2 separate regions of the Homo sapiens genome follow, and region 2 is linked to region 1. The links are contacts of gene promoters, found by promoter capture Hi-C in human tissues and cell types (Jung and others, 2019). All regions are on one chromosome and are shown on one strand. Each heading gives the region's core, a stretch centred on a gene start or on the middle of the fragment in contact. The rest is flanking DNA. Distances are from core to core; before and after follow the strand shown. Region 1 holds the start of ATPAF1 (ATP synthase mitochondrial F1 complex assembly factor 1). Region 2 overlaps ATPAF1 (ATP synthase mitochondrial F1 complex assembly factor 1).

The links. The method cuts DNA at HindIII sites, captures the fragments that hold promoters and counts their contacts. A contact is called where the count stands out against the background at its distance.
Region 2: a fragment that was not itself captured here is called in contact with the fragment with the promoter of ATPAF1 in region 1 in 1 of the 25 tissues and cell types used here (neural progenitor cells).

The regions. Positions count from the first base shown.
Region 1 is chr1:46,666,909-46,672,884 of GRCh38, forward strand. It overlaps ATPAF1 (ATP synthase mitochondrial F1 complex assembly factor 1), which reads right to left and starts at 1,456. Exons shown (of 9, transcript NM_001394565.1): 1 at 1,149-1,456. The coding sequence starts at 1,414. It overlaps TEX38 (testis expressed 38), which reads left to right and starts at 4,946. Exons shown (of 2, transcript NM_001145474.4): 1 at 4,946-5,063; 2 at 5,965-5,976. The coding sequence starts at 5,027. RefSeq lists silencers at 1,026-1,645, 1,073-1,243 and an enhancer at 1,756-1,905. The HindIII fragment of the contact is 2,569 bases long and covers 337-2,905 here.
Region 2 is chr1:46,629,996-46,635,571 of GRCh38, forward strand. ATPAF1 (ATP synthase mitochondrial F1 complex assembly factor 1) reads right to left here. Exons shown (of 9, transcript NM_001394565.1): 9 at 2,742-5,576. Among named protein-coding and RNA genes, the nearest start is that of MOB3C, 16 kb to the left of the region's middle. The HindIII fragment of the contact is 3,743 bases long and covers 1-3,560 here.

The sequences.
Region 1 (5,976 bases), core at 206-2,705:
ATTCAAAGTACAAGTAGACAACTCTTCAGAGATGCTTGTGTGTAAAACAGATCAAATACAGATCAACGAGAGAAGCCTGGAGGGGAATGTACATCAAAGAAAGGCTTTTAAGATGACAAATACTTGAGACTATCTCAATGCTGCTGGAAGGAGAGCAAAAATACTCATTCATTTACTGCATAACTGTTTCAAATGGCAAGAAAGATCACTACAGTAGCAGTGAGAGGAACTGGGGTAAAGTAGTCCAGGAATGGAAGTAGGGAACTCTAGTTAGAGGATAATGGCAACAGCCCAGGTGACGATGATGGAGTAGATTAAGGCAGTGGAAGTAGAGATGAGACAGAACTCAAATTTACAGTACTAAGTCTTTGGTTTCCTTTCATAAGACAACTACCTTCTTACCCTGCTAAATTCTCTCCCAAGCCCCTTTAATTTTCACCTCTGATCTCCTTTAGCTCTTCCCACTTGAACTCTTCAGATGCTCCTATAGCCCCTCATATGCACCTTAAGCCCCTCTAAGCTCCAGATCCTTCCCTCTGGAAGCTAAGAGGTGGTGTTAGGGACCCTGGACTCAGAGTCAGACAAATCCCAAACAGCTGTGTGACCTTTGGCAAGTCTCTTACTCTCGCTGATCCTCAGTCTCCTTAAGAGGGTTCAATGGGTGATCCGACTGTGACACTATTAGTCTTTGATGCCCTCCTCCCATCCCCAGTCGCCTTTCCTTGCAGTCAAGGCCCTAAGCTACCACCAGCCTGGGAACTCCAGCTCTGAGCCAGGCCTCAGCTATCTTAATATGTGACCTTGAGCAAGTCAAGTCCCTTCTCTAGAAGGCGTTTTCCCATTTCTATAATGAGGACAGGTGTCTCTGAGCTGCCTGCCTCAGGGCTGTCATAAGAGTCCACCTTAGCGTTTGGAGAACCAAAGCAGACAAACGTGGAACGAGCCAGGGCTTTGCAGAGACTCCCAGCTCTGACACCAATTAGCTGTGTGATCTTGGGCAAGTGACCTAGCCTCGCGGAGCCTGGCTACATCATCTGAAGAGCTGGGACAGTACTAGTGCCCACCTCACAGGGCTGTCCTAAGGCCCAGCAGCCCGGGCCGCCCCTCCTCCCGCCTCCTGCCCGCCTCCAGCCAACCCAGGCCCGCACCTGCGCAGCAGCTGGATCTTGTCGCGGTAGCGGTCGTAGAAAGGGTTGGCCTGGAGCTCGGCCTCGGCCCCGACCCCGCTGCTGTCGGCGCCCCCCTCGGGCCGGCCCGAGCCGGGGCGCACTGGGAAGACGCGCAGCTGCGCGGGTGACACGAGCCCCAGGCCCAGGGCGCGGCTGCGCACCGCGCACAGGCCCCGGTAGAGACCGGCCACCTGCAGGACCGCCGGTCCCGCGCCACCCGCAGCCGCCACCACCACAGCAGCCATGGCCGCCCCCGCCTCCTCCTCCTCCTCAGGCGCGTCGGCCTCGGCCCGCGGCCCGCGCGCCCGCTCCATCCCGCTCCGAGTGCGCCGCGCCCGCGCTCCGGCACCGAGGTTCCGCGCGCCCAAGGTTCCGGGCGCGGGATAGCGGCGAGGCGGGGCGGGGAGGAGGGGGCGCGCCGCTCTGGCCCCGGCACTGCGCGCTCTCGCCGCCCTGTGTATGCCACGGCCCGCCTCCTCCAGGGAGGCTGCCCAAATTCAACGCCCTTCCTCCCTCTGGGACCAGCAGCCTCTGCGCGCCAAGTCCGTTCTCTAAAGCCAGCGGATCTCCATGTCCTCGCGGTGCTTGCCCCTGGCACTCGCTGTAGTGCCAGGCACTCGATGTAGTAGTCCGTCCTTCAGCATCGAAGGTCTTTTCATCAACTATAATCACAGCAGCAAGCTTCTCTTTACTGAGGTTGCTATGTGCAGGACACTGAGCGGCTTCATACTCTGTGTGGCAGTATTATCCTCATCTAACAAATAAGGAAACTGAGGCCGAGAGTAATTATGTGACTTGTTCAAGTTCTACCCGACAGCTGAGCTCTTTTCAAGATGGCAGCTGCCTCCCAAGCCTCCTTTTCCTCTGCTTCCTGACATCCTCCTTGAACTCCAGCCACAGTGACCTATTCTCTCCCAAAGAAACACCAGGATTACTCCTTGAAGAGTCCTTATTCAGGCCCTTTTTGACCCCTGGAATCCTCTCTCCTTCCATTCTCTCAACCCAAATGCCACAATCTTCCTTACCGTCTGAACCAGGTGTGAGCTCCTAGGGTCAGGGACAGTGACATTAACATCTCTGTGTCCCACCTGCTCACAGAACAGGGCCAGTCCTGGAGTGGGCTCTCTGGGACAGTACTCATCATCAGGTCCTTCTTGTCTGGGTTTTGTCTGATTGAAGCCCCTCCTGGGACAGGGGCAGAGCCTTCAACTCTGCTCAATCCAACCTATGCTCATGGAGATCAGCCCTGAGCCCTGCCCTGTGCGAGGAACAGTGTAATGGAAGATGAATAAGTCCTTCAAGTATGCCAGCCCATACCTGGCTCACACTCCTAACACTTGCTGTTTTCTCTGTGGATCTGCATGTGGCTGCCTCCTCATCATCTAAGGGCTCAGTTCACATGTAAGCACCTCCAAGGGACCTAAATGACAACCCCTCCATCTCTTTATAGTCTTTATCCCATCACTCTATTGCATTCTCTTTATAGCAGTTATCATTATCTGAAGTTCTTAGATCCTTGTTTATATTAATTCATTGAGCTTACATTCTAGTGGAGTGAAACAGACAGTAAATATATAATGTTAGGTGATGCTACATGGTATGCAGAAAAACAGCAGGCCAAGAGAGATAGAGATAAGGGGACACTTGAGCAGAGACCTGAAGGTAATGTGGGAATGCTGGGGGAAGAGCCTTCCAGGTAGGGGAAACAGCAAGTGCAAAGGCCCTGATGAGGAGGTTATTGAGTCTGAATGAGTGAGGGCACAGCAGCAGAAATGAGACCAAGAAGGTATAGGGAGGGCTAGTTAGATTGCTTAGGCCTTGGTTAAGGACTTTGATTTTAAATCGAATGAGATCGGAAGTTACTATATGTTTTAAGCAGTGGAGTAACATGATCTACTTTTTAAAAGGATCATGCTGGCTGCTGGTGGGATTTAGGATATGTGGAGGCAAGGATGGAAACTCTCCCAAGGGTGACTAATTTATTCCAGTTTGCCTAGGACTTTCTTGGCTCTAGCATTGAAAGCCCCATGTCCTGAGAACCCACCCCAAGTCCTGGGCAAACCAGGATGTTGGTCACCCTACAGGGAACAGTAATCCAAGTGAGAGATGGTGGTACTTGGACTAAAGTGATAGTGATAAAAAAAAGTGGCCAGATTTTGGTTATATTTTGAAATAAAAGCCTAAAGATCTTGCTGATGGAGTCAGTGTGGGTGTGATAGAATGAAAGGAGTCAAGGATGACTTGCAGGTTTTTGGCCTGAACAACCCGAAGGACAGAGATACTACTTATGAAGAGGAGGAAGGCTGTAGGTAGGGTAGACTTTGGAGGATGGATAATCAGAGTTTGGTTTTGGACATGTTGGTTTGGGATAATTTAACAGACTGGCAAGGAGGGATGTCAACCAGGTATTTGGGTATGAGTCTAAAGTTCTGAGGAGCATTCCAGGCTGGAGAGATACAGTTGCGTACTGTCAGTGTATAGTGATATTTAAAGCCAGGGGTCTGGGTGAGATAACTGATGGAATGAATGTAGATAGAGCACTAAGAACTGAGCCCTAGACATGCCTACATTTAGAGATCAGGGGAAAAGGGAGAAACCAGCAAAGGAGACTGGAAAGTAGGGGCCAGTGATATACGAGGAGAACAAGGGTAAGTGGACCCTGGAGAGAATTCTGTGCTAAATAGTTCCCTAAGTCACACATTGGAGGACTATAAAGAGGGGAGTCATTAAAATGGTGCTAAGAAGCTGAGCTACAAGCAGTGGTGCAACATACTGGGAAGGCTGACTTAAGCTTAATTAGGGAAGGGCTTTCTAACTGAGCTGCCCATAAATGCATCAAGCTGCCTCAGGAGGTGGTGAGCAAGTTCCTGACTCAAGTGAGTCTTGAGTCCAGGGAGATTAGTTGCTGTGTGGGGAAAAATCTACCCCCAGGAGTCAAGCATGGCCCTGATGGTGGGATCAGATGGTGGAGATGAACTAGACAACTCTCAAAGTTTCTTCAAATTGGCGATGATATGATTCTGGGCAGTCTGTCACAGAGTAGGGGGGCTGAGCTGAGTCTTGAAGGATGAGCAGGTGTTCAGTGGTGGAAAAGTGGGCAGGGGCACTCCTGGGTGAAGGAGCAGCATGGGCACACCTCCAGAGATGTGAATGAGCAGGGTCTGTTCAGGAGTACGGACTAGGCAAAAGGGAAAAGTGTGTGGAGGACGAGGAGGGAAGTAAGGCTGGAAGTAGATGCAGGCCAGATGGTGGGAAGCCCCACAGGGCCTGGGGCCTGGGAAACACTTGTCAGCACTTGAAGGAAGGTAATTAAATAAAAGACAGATTGTTGGAGCCAAAGAAGGAGGTATTGACCACTTGGTTCCCTTGAGCAGGTTTCTTCCTGCCAACTTGGTTAGATACTTTTTGAGAACAGGGCTGCCCAATGCTGTGTGTTCCTTGTTACATTCCTCACTGGGGACAGGTATCCCATCAACCGTTCCCTAAAGACCAGCAACATCCGTAAGTACCTGAGGGACAATGGCCCTTTTCTGGGGTCTGCTCTGTGGGTTCACCATAAGGGGTAGGTACAGACAATTCAATAGGTGAACCAGTCTCTGATGGAAGTAGTAGTGACATTCCACCCAAAAAATGCCACTGGATGAAGTCCCCTCCTTCCATTAACCCAGGACCACTTCACAAGCACTGCCCCTAGAATGCCCAATTCTCAGAACCCAGTGACCTCTCCTTTAGAGAACAAAGGGCCTGGGCATTCTGGAGACTCTGATTGGCTGGGCAGATGGGCTGACTGGCTGGGCAGATGGGTGGGTGAGTTCCCTCTCCCCAGAGCCATCGGCCAGGTACCAAAGCTCAGCTGTATGGATTCCCAACAGGAGGACCTGCGCTTCCCTGGGAGTAAGTGCTCCTCCAGTCCCTGTCACTGGACTTGTGCCTTAGGGCTTGGGGACAAACACTCAGGGAAGGCCCTTTGCATGGATGGGACAGTGCCTGGCTGCCTGGAGGAGAGCTAAGCAGTTAGGAGATAGTCTACTCTAGAAAACTAAGAATTATTTTAAGGCAAAGACCATGCTCTGATCAACCAGAGAAGATACTATCAATAGCCCAGGACTATCACAGCTGAATGGAATGGGATGGGACATTGGTGTCTCTGTCAACTGATGAACTTTCACTTTTTTTTTTTTTTTTGAGATGAAGTTTTGCTCTGTTGCCCCGGCTGGAGTGCAGTGGCTCAATCTAGGCTCACTGTAACCTCCACCTCCTGGATTCAAGTGATTCTCCTGCCTCAGCCTCTGAAGTAGCTGGGACTGCAGGCATGCACCACCACACCTGGCTAATTTTAAAATTTTTAGTAGAGACGGGGTTTCACCATGTTGGCCAGGCTGGACTTGAAGTCCTGACCTCAAGTGATCTGCCCACCTGGGCCTCACAAAGTGCTGGTGAACTTTTGCTTCTTGATGGACTTGCCCATAGTGAAACTTCTCAGTCTGATGGATTGGATGGGTCCTGGGTTAGGAATCAGAGGCTTGACTGAGCCTGGGCAGCACATGCCCCCGCTAGACCTAGCTTTTGTGATCTGTAAAGAGTTAAAGGTGGTGCTTAAGCTCCCTGGAAATCTAGCTTTGACTGAATAAGGGAATGATGAGGCAAGTCAATAAGGGAGGGAAGGAACGGTGAGAGTAGTTAAGTGGATGGAGCGATTGATGCATGGGTTAAGTGAAAGAGGAATGAGAAACAGCTCAGGCCCCAAGCTACAGCTATCAGCCAGCATGCCTCTTTTTCTTTCTTGCTGCCTTAGTGTGGGTCTCAT
Region 2 (5,576 bases), core at 439-2,938, 37 kb before region 1:
ATGTCACTGACCAGCAGGTTCCTGCCAACCTCATAGGGTTGGTAGGATTGAGATAATCCATGTAAGGGCTTAGCACAGTGCCTGGTATATGGTTAGCCCTTAGTAAATGTTAGTGGTTATTGTTAATGTGTATATAGTCAAGTGTTGCTTAACAATGGAGACTACATTGAGAAATGTATCATTAGGTGATTTGGTTGTTGTGCAAACATCATAGGATGTATTTATACAAACCTAGATGGCATATAGCCTATTGCTCCTAGGCTGCAAACCTGTACAGCATGTTACTGTGCTGAATACTGTGGACACTGTAATATAAGGGTAAATACTTATCTATCGTATCTAAACATAGAAAAGGTACAGTAAAAATACAGTATAAGATAAAAAATGATATTGCTGTATAGGACACTTACAATGAATGGAGCCTGCAGGACTGGAAGTTGTTCTGGATGAGTCAGTGAGTGAGTTCTGAGTGAATATGAAGACTGAGGAGGACATTACTGTACACTACAGTAGGCTTTATAAACACTGTACACTAAATTTATAAAAATATTTTTCTTTTTTCAATAACCTTAGCTTACTATAACTTTTTAACTTTATAAACTTTTTAATTTTTAAAACTTTTGACTATTTTATAATTGCACTTAGCTTAAAACACACTGTATAGCTGTATAAAATATTTTCTATCTTTATTCTGTAAGCTTTTTTCTTTAAAAAATTTTATTTTTTACTTTTTAAATGTTTTGGTTAAAAGCTAAGACACAAACATGTACATTAGCCTAGGCCTACACAGGGTCAGGATCATCAACATTACTGACTTCCACCTGCACATCTTGTCCCACTGGAAGGTCTTCAGGGGCAATAACACACATGGAGCTGTCCTCTCCTATAAGAACAATGCCCTCTTCTGGAACAACTCCTGAGAGACCTGCCTGAGGCTGTTTTACAATTGACTTAGTATTTTTTATACGTAGAAGGAGCACACTCTAAATAATACAGTAAATACATAAACCAGTAATAGTCATTTACTATCAAGCATTATGTACTGTACATAGTTTTATGCACTATACCTTTTTATTTTTTGAGATAGGGTCTTGCTCTGTGGCCCAGGCCGGAGTGCAGCAGTGTGATCCCAGCTCACTGTAGCCTCAACCTCCCGGGCTCAAGTGATCCTCCCACCTTAGCCTCCTGAGTAGCTGGGACTACAGGCGTGCACCACCACGCTCAGTTAATTTTTAAATTTTTTTTGTAGAGACAAGGTCTCGCTATGCTGTCCAGGCTGGTTTTGAACTTCTAAACTCAAGGGATCCACCTGCCTCGGCCTTCCAAAGTGCTGGGATTACAGGCGTGAGCCACCGTACCCGGCCCCTGTACACTATACTTTTATACCCTATACCCCTATACACTATGCTGGTGTAGTAGATTTACACCAGCATCACCACAAACACATAATGCATTGTGCTATAACATTACCACAGCTATGATGTCACTAGGCAATAGGAATTTTTCAGCTCCATTATAATCTTATGGGACCACAGTTGCATATGCAATCTAACGTGACCAAAACATTGTTATGTAGTACGTGACTGTAGCTTGGGAGGCCAGCACTGAACCCACAGTACCTCTTGTCTATTGCAAGAAACATATAGCCTTTGAGACTTTAACACTGTCTACCTGTTATTCCCCATTAAGCCATAAGTGCTTCATGGGTGGGTACCAGAGCCTGGCAAGCTTTGCATCCTCCATAGCATGCGGGGGGAGTTCCTTAACTCTCTTTGCCCCTTCTGAGACGGCATTGATCAGTTTGTCTTGTATTGTAATCATTCATGTCAGGTCATGCCGCTGAACTGTAGGCTCCTAAAGGGTAGATACTGAATCTTTATATTTGTCCAGAAACAAGCATTCCTAGCTTGGCTCTGCTCCGGGGCGTTAACACTTGCTGTTCTCTTTACCTGGTTCTCTTTCCCCAGCTCATGTATCAGCTGCCACTGCTGCAGAGATGCCTCTCCTGACCATTAAGTTATTGCCTCCACTCCATAGTCTAAAATATTATTTTTAAATTTTCATAGCACTACCAGTATGTAAAATAATTTTATTGATTTACTTGTCTTCTTTACAAGAATATAAACTACATGAGAACAGGAGCCTTATTTGCCATGTTCATTGCTATATTATCCAGTTTTTTATAACAGTGCTTGGCAAAAAGGTGCTCAATAAGTGTGAATGAATGCTGACTCAATGCCAAATCAAATGACTAGGAAGTGGGCATTAGTACCTCTTCTCCAAGACTGAACAAAAGGTCAGTATGGAGAGTGCAAAGCAAAACATGTGGCTCCAGCTTCCAAACTGGTTGGAGAAGAAAGAAGTACCAGTATGAACATCCAAGAACTAGACAAAGCAAACTATAATCAGGTGTAGGTGTGAGGCACTGAATCAGAGGCAAGAGAGAAACAGGCAGTGGCTAAAACAGAGCCTGCGAGCAGGAATCATACTCTACTCATCTTTCTGTGTCCAGCACTTAACATAGTGGCTGCAGAATAGATGCTCTGTGAGCAGCTGTTAAGTTGTACTGTGTAATGGTCCACCAAGGTAATGCCAGTGGATTAGGTGAGGTACAGAGAACTGTGTATAACTTGGTATCTTGGTTTGCAAATATTTCTACTCAACAAATTCTCGATCTATGTGTATTAAGAGATTCTTTTAAATCTAGAGTATTTACATGCAGGTACATACACAAGACAATGTTTTGGTTGAAATCCATATTACCTATTTATTCAACAAAAAACTGAGTATCTTCTATGGTCCAGGCCATGTCCTTGGCACTGCGAACAGAGATAAGTCCTGGCCCTCAAGGAGCTCACAGTCTAGTGGGGGAAAAAAGACACAAGAATAAATAAATATAATGTATTTGGAGTTTGCAAAGGGGGCCACTATGGGAGACAAAGAACAGAGGAACCTAAATATCCTATAGTTAGCATCCACAGGAAAGAAAGACCTGGCAATGTACATTTTTGTAAAGAATAGATAAGGCAGTGGTTCTCAAAGTGTGGCTGGCTAATTACCTACATCAGAATCATTTGGAGCACATATTAACAAGTAGATTCCCAGTACCTTCTGCACATATTCTTGATTTAGTACGTGTGTGGGGGGGTGGTGTACGGTTGAGGCCTGAGAATCTGCATTTTAAAAGCACTTTAGGTGATGCTACTGCATCTTAAAGTTTCAGAACTGATGAGATAAAGTTTGTTCTTTTAACTGGAATAAAGAATGATCTACACATCTGAAATGCTAACTTGTATTAGTCTTTAATGAGGGGCAAGGGAAGTAGAGAAAAGGATGGTAGTTGATATTTTCTACTATAGTGAAGTTAATTTAATTCTCACAATAATCCTATGAGGTAGATATTATTATCCCTATTTTAGATGGAAAAAAAACCCCAAAATTAGATAGTTTAAGCAATTTGTTCAACAGTATAGAGCTAATGAATAGCAACACTAACATATGAACCCAGATTCACTTAACTCTAAAGCCTGTCCACTTTCTATAACACCATGCTAGCACCAGGGGACAAATTTACTGATTAAATGGTACAATTTTCTTTGAGTTCTTTGCCAGATCTTTCTAGGTAAATAAATATAAAGAACAGCTACGTGGTACTTTAGTCATGCCCCACACATTTATCCATGGACACATCCTACTTGGCAGTTGGGGACTGAGGACAAATCCAGGAGGAATGATTAAAACGAATGGCCACTTCTTACTCCTTTTTCCATCATTTCCTCACCCGCTGGTGGAGGTGTATCAATGTACTATGTATGGCTAATAACTGGGCCCATCTGGAAAGACAAGCAAACATAACTGGATACCAATAAAAACAACCCCATCTGATGTCAAAAATTCTTGGGACCCAAAACATTCAGAAGGTCAGAAGGCATTTAATGAAAATGGCAGGGCAGATAAGACTCAAGTTTCTCAAAAGATAAACTGCCAGGACCAGAAGCAGGTCCAGAATTTACATTAGTTAACAGCTCAACCTTTAGAGAAATAGTGAAAGGATAGCAGCTTCCCCAGTTTAAAAAAATACTATCTGTCTCTCTCAATACATAGACTCAAAGGTGCAACAAAATAGACACGGCTCAGAGAATAGTGGGATGTCCACCCTATTTAAAGAGCTTAGGGACAGGCCCAACCTATAAAAATTCTTCTGGAAGGAAGAAAACACACACACACAAACTGCGAATACTGCTTAAATTCCCACTCACCACATTCAGTGTCATATAACCAGATCTTAGGCAGGAGCAGCAGAGTGGAGCATGTTAGATCAATAAAGAAATGTCAGGCCAGGCACGGTGGCTCACACCTGTAATCCCAGCACTTTGGGAGGCCAAGGTGGTGGATCACTTGAGGCCAGGAGTTCGAGACCAGCCAGCCTGGCCAACAAAGTGAAACCCTGTCTCTACAACAATACAAAAATAAGCCAGGTATGGTGGCATGCGCCTGTAATCCTAGCTCCTCAGGAGGCTGACGCAGCAGAATCACTTGAACCAGGGAGGTAGAGGTTGCAGCGAGCTGAGATCACGCTACTGTACTCCAGCCTGGGCAAGACAGAGCAAGACTTCATCTCAGGAAAAAAAGAAAGAGAAAGAAATGCCATGGTAAAGGCAGCTGACAACAATACTGGGGGCCTTGGGTTCAGAAGGCTGGTGTGTAACCACCGTCCTTTCCTATCACTGAGCTTGGAGCCACAACAGTGACACTACAAACGAAAGATGGGTTTCCAGCTCTGGAGAACAACTTTCTTATTTCTGGCATTCCAAACAATTTTTCAGTCCCAAGATGAGTTTTGATAAAATCAGCCCATAGCCCTGACACAATGGACAGTACATAACTCAGATTTCATTATTTTGTATAACAAACATTGTAAGCCAGACTTAAAAAAAAAATTATTGCTATATTTTCCCCACATCCAATCTGGGAACATTTGCTTTCATCCACTTTTTCGTATCATGTTTAGAGTTGTTTTTAAAAAAATCATGCAAACCAGGATTAATCTTCTCCTTACAAAAGAATTTTATTTATACTGCACTGATTCATTCCTTCAAACACATAGCTTCTAACAGGTGGAGTTAGAAAAGCGGGTGCCACAAACTATGGTTTAATAGTATGCAGGCCCTGTACCTGTTTATCTAACTATACCTGAAATTTGCTGATACCCCAAGCCAGCTACTTACACTAAAGGCATCTCTGGGGGGCATCATCTAGATGAAGTCTTTAACCTGATGGGAATATCTGGTTATTCTACAGTTTAAACAGGATGTTTGGCTTATGCTTTTGTTCAGCTGACTGGTGCCTGGGAAGGATTAAAGCCCATATCTAACTACAGCAGGTCTTCAAGCTTATTATCCTGTCATGAGTTCATAAAGATGACAAACTCATCATTTGGGAGCTATAAGGTCAAAGTGGCCAGAATGCAACTGCGCTGTTACACTGTGCAAAATCAAGTCAACTGTCTTGTAGGTCCTTGGCTGTCTCTTGTTATAACCTCGAACACTTAAAAAAGGAAACCTCAAGTATGCTGA